Linked DNA regions of Homo sapiens: region 2 is linked to region 1. The links are contacts of gene promoters, found by promoter capture Hi-C in human tissues and cell types (Jung and others, 2019). All regions are on one chromosome and are shown on one strand. Each heading gives the region's core, a stretch centred on a gene start or on the middle of the fragment in contact. The rest is flanking DNA. Distances are from core to core; before and after follow the strand shown.

The links. Contacts are between HindIII fragments. The study calls those that stand out against the background at their distance.
Region 2: a contact is called between a fragment that was not itself captured here and the fragment with the promoter of NDE1 in region 1, in 2 of the 25 tissues and cell types used here (bladder and heart left ventricle).

Annotation. Positions count from the first base shown.
Region 1 is chr16:15,647,105-15,653,795 of GRCh38, reverse strand. It overlaps NDE1 (nudE neurodevelopment protein 1), which reads right to left and starts at 3,551. Exons shown (of 9, transcript NM_017668.3): 1 at 3,502-3,551. RefSeq lists a silencer at 190-484 and enhancers at 2,849-3,348, 3,349-3,850. The HindIII fragment of the contact is 16,587 bases long and covers 1-6,691 here.
Region 2 is chr16:14,991,960-14,998,650 of GRCh38, reverse strand. It overlaps PDXDC1 (pyridoxal dependent decarboxylase domain containing 1), which reads right to left. Exons shown (of 23, transcript NM_015027.4): 2 at 825-898; 3 at 246-311. Among named protein-coding and RNA genes, the nearest start is that of MIR1972-1, 15 kb to the left of the region's middle. The HindIII fragment of the contact is 6,885 bases long and covers 511-6,691 here.

The DNA of each region.
Region 1 (6,691 bases), core at 2,302-4,801:
AGATCGCCCCACAGCACTCCAGCCTGTGTGACAGAGCGAGAACCCGTCTCAAAAAAAAAAAATTGTTTCCACATGCTTTTTTTTTTTTTGCATGTTTTACATGATTAAAGCTAACAAAAAAGTCTGAAAATACACTCGAGACACACACCTCTGATTTTAAAACTCTGGAAAAAAGCAAAGCAATCTCTTTCAGCTTTCCTCTGAGAGAAGAAACCCAGCACTGCTAGTCAGGAGCAATAAACATACAGAAACCATCGATAATTACTCAACACCCTTCTCCATCCCCACTCCATATCCTTCCCAATCAAAACAAACAGAAGAGCAGGAGGGAAGAGAAAGAAGCTGCCAAATGTCCACACATGCTCCGACAGCCAGGACGCAGGCTTTGCATTTTGCAGGAGTGACATCACTGGGGCAACATCAGTCAAGAGTCAGCAAGCCTGGCTTCTGTCTTTGTGCTTTCCAAGTTTACAATGATCAACCTACAAAAATACTTAGGCAGGCAAGGACCCATGTTCAAAGATGCACACCATCATTCACGAATGTGGAAAACTGGAAACCTCAATGTCAACAGAGGACTGAATGGAAAACGATGCAGTTGTTAAGAACTGTAAGTACTAATATGGAAGAAAGCTCAGGATATGTTAAAAATGGGTGCCCATTTTTGTTTATTTCCCTCTCTCTGTACACAGAATAGAAAAGGGTCTGGAGGATGCACCAGAATGGGGGTAAAGCAAGCCCTGTGGATTTGTACCTGACACCTTGCTTTAAGGTAAACTACATACACATATATACAGTAAGCATAGATCGCTTTAGAGATTTTAAAAAGCTTAGGCCAGGCGCGGTGGCTCTCTCCCACCCCGGCACGTTGGGAGGCTGAGGCGGAAGGATCGCTTGAACCCAGGAGTTCGAGACCAGCCTGGGCAACATAGTGAGACCCCAATCTCTACAAAAAATTTTAAAAATTAGCCAAGCATGGTGGCATGTGCTTTTAGTCCCAGCTACTTGGGAGGCTCAGGCAAGAGGATTGCTTGAGCCTGAGAGGTCGAGACTGCAGTGAGCTGTGATTGCATCACTGTGTTCCAGCTTGGGCGACAGAGTGAGATCCCGTCTCAAAAAACAAACAAACAAAAACTTGGACAAAAAGTAAAATAGCTATTGTTCCAGGATAATTTTATTCTACTGAACCAAGTGACAGGGAAAGAATTTTTCCTACTGTGGTTTTGCCTCCTCCAACCCTTTTCAAACATTTCTTGAATACCTACTAAGTGCTGGGCACTGCTGAAGGAGGCAGACAAAAAGCACCCACATCCATTGCACGAGGTGCACGTGTAGTACTAACTGCAGGCACAAACTTTCTGTACACAGGAATGCTCATGTTAGGAAATTACCTTGTGAGGAAAAGGAGTGTCAATTCTCGGCTCACATTCTAAGGCAAAAGAACACACTTTGGGCTGCATGCAGTGGCTCATGCCTGCAAGTAATCTCAGCACTGTGGGAGGCCAAGGCAGGAGGACTGCTTGAGCCCAGGAATTTGAGACCAGCCTGGGCAACAAAGCAAGATTCTGCCTCTACATAAAAAATAATAATAATGATAGAGTCGGGTGCAGTGGCTCATGCCTGTAATCCCAACACTTTGGGAGGCTGAGGTGGGCAGATCACGAGGTCAGAAGTTTGAGACCAGCCTGGCCAATATGGTGAAACCCCATCTCTACTAAGAATTAGCCGGGCATGGTGGCACGCACCTGTAATCCCAGCTACTCAGGAGGGTGAGGCAGAAGAATCACTTGAACCCGGAGGACTGAGGTTGCAGTGAGTCGAGATCATGCCACTGCACTCCAGCCTGGACAAGAACAAGACTCCGTCTCAAAATAAATAAATAAATAAATAATAAATAACACACTTTGGAAACAAAAATAAGTCAAGTTAATAAACTGTTATCCAACATGGGATAAAATATATGAATCACAGGCCCCTGAGACTTCAGCGGCACAGATCATCTGCATTTAATCCTACACAAAACACACACTAAGAGGAAAGGCTCAAAATGGGTTGTAGGCCGGCACGGTGGCTCACGCCTGTAATCCCAGCACTTTGGGAGGCCGAGGGGGCAGATCACGAGGTCAGGAAATCGAGACCATCCTGGCTAACACGGTGAAACCCCATCTCTACTAAAAATACAAAAAATTAGCCAGGCGTGGTGGCACGCACCTGTAGTCCCAGCTACTCCGGAGGCTGAGGCAGGAGAATCGCTTGAACCCGGGAAGCGGAGGTTGCAGTGAGCCAAAATCGCACCACTGCACTCCAACCTGGGCGAGAGTGAGACTCTGTCTCAAAAACAAAAACAAAAAAAAAAAAAAAAAAACGGGTTGTATACCAACGAGGTGATGGAGGCTGGGGTGGTCGGGTAACAAGAGGCTTTAGGAGTAGCTGGGATCTAATTAATCTTCAAAACACCCGACCCATGTCCTAAAATGCCATCCTATGCTAGAATACACTATAACAAAACTAAAAATGATGAACCTGCCTAGGTCGTGCTGCAAAGGCCTTTTCTTTAGAAAGTTAAAAGGGGCCTGAGGCTCAAAGTAGAAATTAAGAGGCACAACCTGGTAGTAACCACGGACAAAGCAATCAAGGAAGCTCAGGCCCTCAGGAGGCAGAAAGCCTGAGATGGCTCGGAGAAGATAAAGTCGCCTCCCCAAAAGCGGTGTCAAGGTGACAGCGGGGTTTCCCAGGACCTCAGAGACTCAGGTCCTCAGTGAGCCCAGCCATCACTCAAGCTGCGGAATAAGCATTTTCGTCCTTTACCCAATCCCTCCCCAAAGTGCTGTCAGAAGAAACCTGAACCGTCCTGCGGCAGAGACGGGAGCAAAGCGGAGAGCAGACTGCCCCAAACGTGTTCCCGGAGGGAGGGAGCAGGGTGGGTTTTTGGAAAGAGGCCTGCAGGGGCGGGACAGTGGGTGTGAGGGCAGGGGCAACGCTGCAATCGAGGGGTCTGGGGTCGCAGAGAAGCGGGTGGCAGGATGGAGGAATAGGAGAGAGAGAGAAAAGAAACGAGGGTCATCTAGGAGAGGAGTATGGGGAGGAAGGAAGAGGAGAAAGAGGATGGAGCCTGGCAGCGGGGTTTGGGGACCGGCAAGGCTTAACCACCCAGGAAGTCCCGGAAGGAGAAGAGGGCAACGGGGTGGGAGAGAGACCAACGCAGAAAGAGAAACAAAGTTGCCAAGGGCGAGGGGCCAGCGCGAGGAACGCACCGGTGGCAAGGCACTCAGTGCCTAACTTTTTAGGACGGGAGGCTCCAGGGAGGCGGGATTTTGGAGCCCAGGGACCGGGGGAGTCCAGGCGGCCGGGAAGCGACGCGCAAGCGAGGGGCGTAGGGGTCCCTGCCAGGCGGTGGCCCGGGGTCCCGGGATCCTGGGGCGGGGCAGAGGAGCTTTTCAGCCGCGGTGGAGGTCCCCGGACAGCCACCCCGACCCCAGCCCCGCGCAGCGCCTCACTTACCCGAGCAGGGGCGGCGAGGCCAACGCGGCGGCGGCGGCAGAGGCGGCTGCGAAGGGCGGTGCGGCCCCGGCCCTCCGGACCCCGCCCCCGCCCCGGAGCCTGCGGTCGGCGCCTCCCATTGGCTGCTGCTCTACGGTACCGCGTCCGCCTCGGCCAATCAGCGCAGAGCAGCGTCGTTTGGAAACTTTTTTCCCAGGCCGGGCGCGGCGCGGCCAAGCGGCGAAGGCTCCTGGCCGGAGGGGGTTTGAGAGGCGCCGGCTGCCGGGCGCTGGGCTGCGGCGGGCTGGCGGGCATTGGAGATGCTGCAGAACGCTGCCTGGACACCCGGGAAACGGGTTTGGGCTTGCGGGCCGCGCATTTCAGGAAAATACGCCGGCCTCTCCTTCACTTCGATTGCATTTTCCCATTCTTGCACTTTCTCCAAATCAGAAGGAAAGACAAAGATTCAGGCCCACTGAAGCTAGCAGTGCCCCGTGCCCTTCCTACTCCTTTACACCAAAAGTAGAATCTTCAGCATCATTATCTTCTCCAGAAGCAGGAGAACGTAGTGCACCAGAATTTGGTCATAAACTTGGCTTTGAGTCCTAGTCCTGCCCCTTACTAACTGTGTGGTCTTGGGAAAGTTGTTTAGCCTCTATGACTCCGTTTCCCCATCTATAAAACGCCATTATGGGTCTGGCGCGGTGGTCACGCCTGTAATCCCAGCACTTTGGGAGGCCAAGGCGGGTGGATCACGAGGTCAGGAGTTCAAGACCAGCCTGGCACATGGTGAAACCCCGTCTCTACTAAAGATACAAAAAATTAGCCGGATGTGGTGGCACGCACCTGTAATCCCAGCTACTCAGGAGGCTGAGGCAGGAGAATCACGGGAAACCGGGAGGTGGCGGTTGCAGTGAGCCGAGATCACACCACTGCACTCTAGCCTAGGCGACAGGGCAAGACTCCGTCTTAAAGAACAGACAAACAAACAAACGACATTATGCAGAGGACTAAATGACTTAACAGCATTTGTAAAAACGTTTAGAACAGAAATTTGAACTTAGTAAGTACAATATATGTATTTGTTAAATGATCTTGATTTTGTTTATTTATTTATTTTGAGATGAAATCTCCCTCTGTCTCCCAGGCTGGAATGCAGTGGCGTGATCTCCACTCACTGCAACCTCTGCCTTCTGAGTTCAAGCAATTCTCCTGCTTCAGCCTCCCGAGTAGCTGGGATCACAGGCCCGCATCACCACACCCGGCTAATTTTTATATTTTTAGTAGAGACGGGGTTTCACCATGTTGGCCAGGCTGCTCTCGAATCCCTGTCCTCAGGTGATCCACCCACCTCGGCCTCCCAAAGTCCTGGGATTACAGGCGTGAGCCACCACACACTGCCTGAAGATCGTGATTTTTAAATGGCTGTGTGTGCCAGGCACAATTCTCACAGCAACCCTAATTGTTCACTAACAAATTAAAATTAAAAAATAATTTTTTTCTTTTCGAGACAGAGTTTCCCTCTTGTTGCCCAGGCTGGCGTGCAATGGTGCGATCTCGGCTCACTGCAACCTCTGCCTCCCAGATTCAAGCGATTTTCTTGTCTTAGTCTCCCTAGTAGCTGGGATTACAGGCGCCCACCATTACGCCCAGCTAATTTTTTGTATTTTTAGTAGAGACACGGTTTCACTGTGTTGGCCAGGCTGGTCTCGAACTCCTGACCTCAAGCAATACACCTCAGTCTCCCAAAGTGCTGGGATTACAGGCGTGAGCCATGTAACTCAGAAGGCAGAGGTTGCGGTGAGTGGAGATCACGCCACTGCATTCCAGCCTGGGAGACAGAGGGAGACTTCATCTCAAAATAAATAAATAAATAAAATCAAGCCACCATGCTTGGCTGGAATTTCTTTTTTTCTTTATTTTCTTCTAAAACATCCTGTCATAACATGTTCATTAACAAATACCGAACATTCTGGTTAGTGGGTACAAAAATAGAGTTAGAATGAATAAGATCTAGTATTTGGGAGCACAGCAGGGTGACTACAGTCCACAACAATGTATTGTACATTTTAAAATAACTAAAGGAGTATAATTGGAGTGCTTGTAACACAAAGAAAGGATAAATGCTTGAGGTCATGGACACCCATTTACCCTGATGTGATTATGATGCATTGCATGCCTGTTATCAAAATATCTCATGTACCCCATAAATATAAACACCTACAGTGTACCCATAAAAACTAAAAATATATATATTATTATCCAGCTTTTTTTTTTTTTTGTGAGACAGAGTCTCACCCTGTGACATAGGCTGGAGTGCAGTGGCATAATCAAAGCTCACTGCATCCTGGACCTCCCAGGCTCAAGTGATCCTCCCACCTCATCCTCCGGAGTAGCTAGGACCACAGGTGTGCACCAACACGCCCAGCTAATTTTTACATTTTTTTGTAGAGACGTGGATCTCACTATGTTGCCCAGGCTGGTCTTGAACTCCTGGGCTCAAGTGATCCTCCTGCCTCAGCCTCCCTCCCAAAGTGCTGGGATTATAGGCATGAACCACAGCACCCGGCATTATGAGCATTCTTCTGTACAATGCACCCTTACAGCACAGTGAATACAGTCAGACAAAGTACCTGTCCTCAAAGGGCTTATATTGTTAAGAGAGAAACATACTAAATCTATAAGCAGAAAAAGTAACGTCATTTCAGATACTGATAAGTGCTATGACTAAGGCAAGCCCATTTGATACAACGGGCTGGGAGGGGTCACTTCAGATGCTATAGTCAGGGAAGGCCACTGTAGAGAGGAGACCATGCAACTGAACCACAGGTGATGAACCACAGGAAAGCATTAAATTGTATCCATGTTAAAGATAAGAAAATAAAGGTGCAGGAAGTTAATTGAGTTGTCCGAGGTCTTACAACTAGTAATTAACAAATCAGGCTTCAGAGCTGGCTCTGACTCCTAAACCCTCCTTCTTCAGCACTATGCTAGAGGCAAAGAGATCTTAGCTATTACAGGATCTCCCACCCCATCTTGCCTTCCTGCTATCCTACAACAGCCTTTCTCAAATTCTACTTTGAACTCCTTGCTAATTCCTAAAAACTGCTTAGAGGCACAAAGGGGAACCCCACCACCTATCAACAGGTTTAAGGAAAGTACCAAATGTCTTTCAGGAAACTTCCCAAACATTAATGAATCATTTACATGC
Region 2 (6,691 bases), core at 2,704-5,203, 660 kb after region 1:
ATGGCAAAATCCCATCTCTACTGAAAATACAAAAATTAGCCAGATATGGTGGTGCACGCCTGTAATCCCAGCTACTCGGGAGGCTGAGGCACAAGAAAGAACTGCTTGAACCCGGGAGGCGGAGGTTGCAGCGAGCCCAGATTGTGCCACTGCACACCATCCTGGGCAACAGAGCACGACTCCATCTCAGAAACAAACAAAAATTTACACCTTAACTAAAGGTATGGATCCTCAGTGCCACCTACCTGCCCTGGAGTGGGCCTGGAATATCTCCGGATATGAGCTTCTTTCCATTTTCCTCTTCTGTTCTTCTAATTTAAAGAAAAGAAAAAGCTGTTCATTTGTTTCATCATACCAAATTTCTAACTCCTGAATATGCAAACATGACCATGTTGCCTATAACCTCCCAGTGACTGAGGCAGGATTTCAAACACATTTATCACATCTCCCTGCCTCCAGTTTCAGGTATCGTTTGAATTTCTGGAAAAGACAAGAATATGCAACAAAAAAGTTCCACCCACTTCTTGTTTACTTGGTGCTCTATATGACCTGAATATATAATAAGTATTTATAGAGTCAAATCAATATATTAAGTAAATGAAACTCTTAATAGACAGAATTAAATAGTATAAGTCTTTCCTCTCAATTTCAAAATCCTTTAATTACAAGGCACCTTTTACCCAAGACAAATACCAATTTTCAAGTCAGCCAAAGCTGTGTGTGACACTGTGAAGCCAAGAGGCACCTTTAACAGAAAGGACCCAGAGCCACTGGCTTCACAGCAGGCTGAACTCGTTGAACAGGGTCACCTCTGTCCTACTCACCTCTGACTGTCCTCCAGCATCTTCACTGCCTCCTTCAAGTTTTTTCCCATTTCAGCTAACGTGGGGTCTGCTATCTGGGAAACAAAAAAAAAAAGAAAGAAATTTTAATAATCCTCTATTACCTCTATAACACAATTCACCCAGAAAAATTAAGTGCATAATTTCTTCTGGATTTACTGTGAAATACATGATTTTAAAACTTGCAATAGTACAAAAGTATAACAGAAAAAGTAAAAATCTTCCAGCCCCACTTCCTAGAGGAAGCCGCTGTTTTTATTTTTATTTTTTGAGTTGGAGTCTTACTCTGTTGCCCAGACTAGAGTGCAATGGCATGACCTTGCTCACTGCAACCTCTGCCTCCTGGGTTCAAGTGATTCTCTTGCCTCAGCCTCCCAAGTAGCTGGGATTACAGGCACACACCACCATGCCCAGCTAATTTTTGTATTTTTAGTAGAGACGGGGGGGTTTCACCATGTTGGCCATGCTAGTCTCGAACTCTTGACCTCAAGTGATCTGCCCGCCTTGGCTTCCCAAAGTGCTGGGATTGCAGGTGTGAGCCACCGTGCCTGGCCTCCTTAAGTTCCTTTTGAATTTTAGTGCCATGTGTACACCTATCTCCCATCCAAAAAGTAAACAAAATAGAATTTAAATTTTTCTGCAGAATTATAATTTTTTCACCATTCATTCTGGGAAGAACCAGGTGAGGCCAAAACCAAGGACCCTACCCTTCTTCACTTGGTACCACCTTCCCACTTGACAAGTTACAAGTCCCATGGGGGTAACCACAAGGTCCCCTCAGCCTGGCCATTGTACACAGCCCCAGGGTACCGGCAACGCATGACCTACACTCCAAGGCAACTGGACAACTTGGTCTTTGGTAAGATCACTTATGATAACAAAGTGAGTCAGCTTCGTTTCAAACAAGCAATGTGGCAGTGATACAAAGACAAGCTATTTTGACAAATATTATTTTTGAGGCAGTCGCTCTGTTACACAGGCTGGGGTACAGTGGTTTGATCGTGGCTCACTGCAGCCTTGACCTCCAGGGATCAAGTGATCCTCCCACCTCAGCCTCCTGAGTACCTGGGAATACAAGTGCTCGCCACCATGCCTGGCTAATTTTCAAAATTTTTTTGTAGATACAAGGTCTCATTATGCTGCACAGGCTGATCTCAAACTCCTGAGCTCAAGTTATCCTTCTGCTGGGATTACAGGCTGAGCCACTGTGCCCGAACTTTTTGCAGAATTAAAACATACGCATTCCTTTCCTTTTCCTTTCTCTATTCTTAATCTCTGTAGTTATGTTTAGGGAGAAAATTCTTGTTGACTTCAATCTCTATGTAGTATGAGTTGTGTTATAACAATAAATTATATATTATATATTATATTACATATAATACATATAATATCATATATAAGTTATAGCTCTTTTGTTCCCCTCTTACTCTTCTAAGTGTGCTGCTTAAAGGAAGAGCTGTGTTTACCTTTTCCTATTGCTCACTGTATCTAGCAATATGTTACAGCATGGCATACAATACGTACGTATTTAAAACTGCATTGCCTCCTCAAAATTGTTTTTAAGAAATTCCACTCCATTTATCAATATAAGATTCAGAAATTGTTACATTCTAGAAGGGACCTAAGGGATCTAGTCCAGGGATTTTCCAGCTGTGTTCTCCTGAGCTTTAAGGTCCCTGGGAGGACTCTGAGAAGGAAGGGTTAGGTAAGCAGTTGGGGCTTCTAACTCCCTAGCAGATCAGCTCTGTTTTGTATAACAGGGTTTTGAGTAAAGTAGTAAAGTTTTTATTTGTAAAAAGTTTCATTGAATGATAAAGGGGATATCACCACCAATCCCACAGAAATACAAACTACCATCACAGAATACTATAAACACCTCTACGCAAATACACTAGAAAATCTAGAAGAAATGGATACATTCCTCAACACATACACCCTCCCAAGACTAAACCAGGAAGAAGTTGAATCTCTGAATAGACCAATAACAGGCTCTGAAATTGTGGCAATAATTAAGAGCTTACCAACCAAAAAAGGTCCGGGACCAGAGGGATTCACAGCCAAATTCTACCAGAGGTAAAAGGAGGAGCTGGTACCATTCCTTCTGAAACTATTCCAATCAATAGAAAAAGAGGAAATCCTCCCTAACTCATTTTATGAGGCCAACATTATTCTGATACCAAAGCCTGGCAGAGACACAACAAAAAAAGAGAATTTTAGACCAATATCCCTGATGAACATCGATGCAAAAATCCTCAATAAAACACTGGCAAACTGAATCCAGCAGCACATGAAAAAGCTTATCCAGCATGATCAAGTGGGCTTCATCCCTGGGATGCAAGGCTGGTTCAACATACGCAAATCAATAAATGTAATCCAGCATATAAACAGAACCAACAACAAAAACCATACGATTATCTCAATACATGCAGAACGGCCTTTGACAAAATTCAACAACCCTTCATGCTAAAAACTCTCAATAAACTGGGTATTGACGGACCATATCTCAAAATAATAAGAGCTATCTATGACAAACCCACAGCCAATATCATACTGAATGGGCAAAAACTGGAAGCATTCCCTTTGAAAACTGGCACAAGACAGGGATGCCCTCTTCTCACCACTCCTATTCAACACGGTGTGGGAAGTTCTGGCCAGGGCAATGAGGCAGGAGAAGGAAATAAAGGGTATTCAATTAGGAAAAGAGGAAGTCAAATTGTCCCTGTTTGCAGATGACATGATTGTATATCTAGAAAACCCCATCGTCTCAGCCCAAAATCTCCTTAAACTGATAGGCAACTTCAGCAAAGTCTCAGGATACAGAATCAATGTGCAAAAATCACAAGCATTCTTATACACCAATAACAGACAAACAGAGAGCCAAATCATGAGTGAACTCCCATTCACAATTGCTTCAAAGAGAATAAAATACCTAGGAATCCAACTTACAAGGGATGTGAACGACCTCTTCAAGGAAAACTACAAACCACTGCTCAATGAAATAAAAGAGGATACAAACAAATGGAAGAACATTCCACACTCATGGGTAGGAAGAATCAATATCGTGAAAACGGCCACACTGCCCAAGGTAATTTATAGATTCAATGCCATCCCCATCAACCTACCAATGACTTTCTTCACAGAATTGGAAAAAACTACTTTAAAGTTCATATGGAACCAAAAAAGAGCCCACATTGCCAAGTCACTCCTAAGCCAGAAAAACAAAGCCGGAGGCATCATGCTACCTGACTTCAAACTATACTACAAGGCTACAGTAACCAAAACAGCATGGTACTGGTACCAATACAGAGATATAGACCAATGGAACACAATAGAGCCCTCAGAAATAATGCCGCATATCTACAACTATCTGATCTTTGGCAAACCTGACAAAAACAAGAAATGGGGAAAGGATTCCCTTGTTAATAAATGGTGCTGGGAAAACTGGCCAGCCATATGTAGAAAGCTGAAACTGGATCCCTTCCTTACATCTTATACAAAAATTAATTCAAGATGGATTAAAGACTTAAATGTTAGACCTAAAACCATAAAAACCCTAGAAGAAAACCTAGGCAATACCATTCAGGACACAGGCATGGGCAAGGACTTCATGTATAAACCACCAAAAGCAATGGCAACAAAAGCCAAAACTGACAAATGGGATCTAATTAAACTAAAGAGCTTCTGCAAAGCAAAAGAAACTACCATCAGAGTGAACAGGCAATCTACAGAATGGGAGAAAATTTTTGCAGTCTACTCACCTGACAAAGGGCTAATATCCAGAATCTACAATGAACTCAAACAAATTTACAAGAAAAAAACAACCCCATCAAAAAGTGGGCGAAGGATATGAACAGACACTTCTCAAAAGAAGACATTTATGCAGCCAAAAGACACATGAAAAAATGCTCATCACCACTGGCCATCAGAGAAATGCAAATCAAAACCACAATGAGATACCATCTCACACCAGTTAGAATGGCAATCATTAAAAAGTCAGGAAACAACAGGTGCTGGAGAGGATGTGGAGAAATAGGAACACTTTTACACTGTTGGCGGGACTCTAAACTAGTTCAACCATTGTGGAAGTCAGTGTGGCGATTCCTCAGGGATCTAGAACTACAAATACCATTTGATCCAGCCATCCCATTACTGGGTATATACCCAAAGGATTATAAATCATGCCGCTATAAAGACACATGCACACGTATGTTTATTGTGGCACTATTCACAATAGCAAAGACTTGGAACCAACCCAAATGTCCATCAATGATAGACTGGATTAAGAAAATGTGGCACATATACACCATGGAATACTATGCAGCCATAAAAAATGGTGAGTTCATGTCCTTTGTAGGGACATGGATGAAGTTTGAAACCATCATTCTCAGCAAACTATCTCAAGGACAAAACACCAAACACCGCGTGTTCTCACTCATAGGTGGGAAATGAACAATGAGAATACATGGACACAGGAAGGGGAACATCATACACTGCTGCTTGTTGTGGGGTGGGGGGAGGGAGGAGGGATAGCATTAGGAGATATAACTAATGTTAAATGAAGAGTTAATGGGTGCGGCACACCAACATGGCACATGTATACATATGTAACAAACCTGCATGTTGTGCACACGTACCCTAAAAATTAAAGTATAATTTTAAAAAATTAAAAAAAAAATTTTTTTTTAAAGTGTCATTGAAAAGAAAAAAAAAATTCTTTGGGAGGCCAAGGCAGAAGAATCACTTGAGGCCAGGAGTTTCAGATCAGCTTGGGCAACATAGTGAGAAATAAATTAGCTGGGTGTGGTGGTGCACACCTGTAGACCTAGCTACTTGGGAGGCAGAGGTAGGAGGATCGCTTGAGCCTGGGAGTTTGAGGCTACAGTAAGCTATGATTGTGTCACTGCGCTCCAGCCTGGAACAGAGTAAAACCCTGTCTCAAAAAAAGAAAAAAAAAAAAAAGTATAGCATAAAAACGTCTGATTCTGGTCTAACATTTTGGAGGTGAGGAAACTAAGATGCAGAGAGGTTAAGCGACTTGCCTATGGCCATAGAGCTAATAAACGACAATGAGGTGCCAAAACCTAGGGTCCCTGACTCCTGTTTCTGACCTCTATTATATCACACTGGCTCCCACAAGGGCTTACAAGGTAATCATTTAGCCATGACCAAATTTTTAGATAAAATAGACAAATTTTAAAACAAGTGTTTTCAATAAAATTCACCACTTTAACTATGAGAAGGCTCAGAAAGCACTCGAAAAAGGCCTCAGTGCAGACAGTGAAGAGAATGAGGAATATGATGGTCAAGAGAATTTATCTTCACCCCTGAGTCAGCTGGTGATGCTCCTGACGATCCTCACTGCTGTGACACTCCCGTGTGTCCCCTACCACCTAGCCAAATGATAAACAGTTTGGCTTGATTCACACCTTCATGCTCCCAACGACCATAGTGTCTGAAATATCCTCATGACTTTTATCTATCTCTCTCCTAGCACCTATTCAATTACAAGTCAATAATTCCAGGAAGCCTTTACAGATAAAGCCACTTTTGCTCTTTCCCATCCCCTCTAATGATACTGATGCCTTTTTTCCTAAACCAAAAATCTAGACTTGTTGCTTGACAATGTTGGTTGTATTTATGGGGACAATGGGACAGAATGCTTGCAGTTGTTGCGGCTGCCATTTATCCTCATGATTCCTTACACCCTTTACTGTGAATTGTTTTATAGATGTGCTTTCCAGTATAAATGTGCTCTCCAATTAGATTACAAGCTTCTTGAAGGCAAGGATTCAGACTCCTACTAATTTTGACTTCTCTTTAGACCACGGGTCTAAAGTTGGCTCAATTCT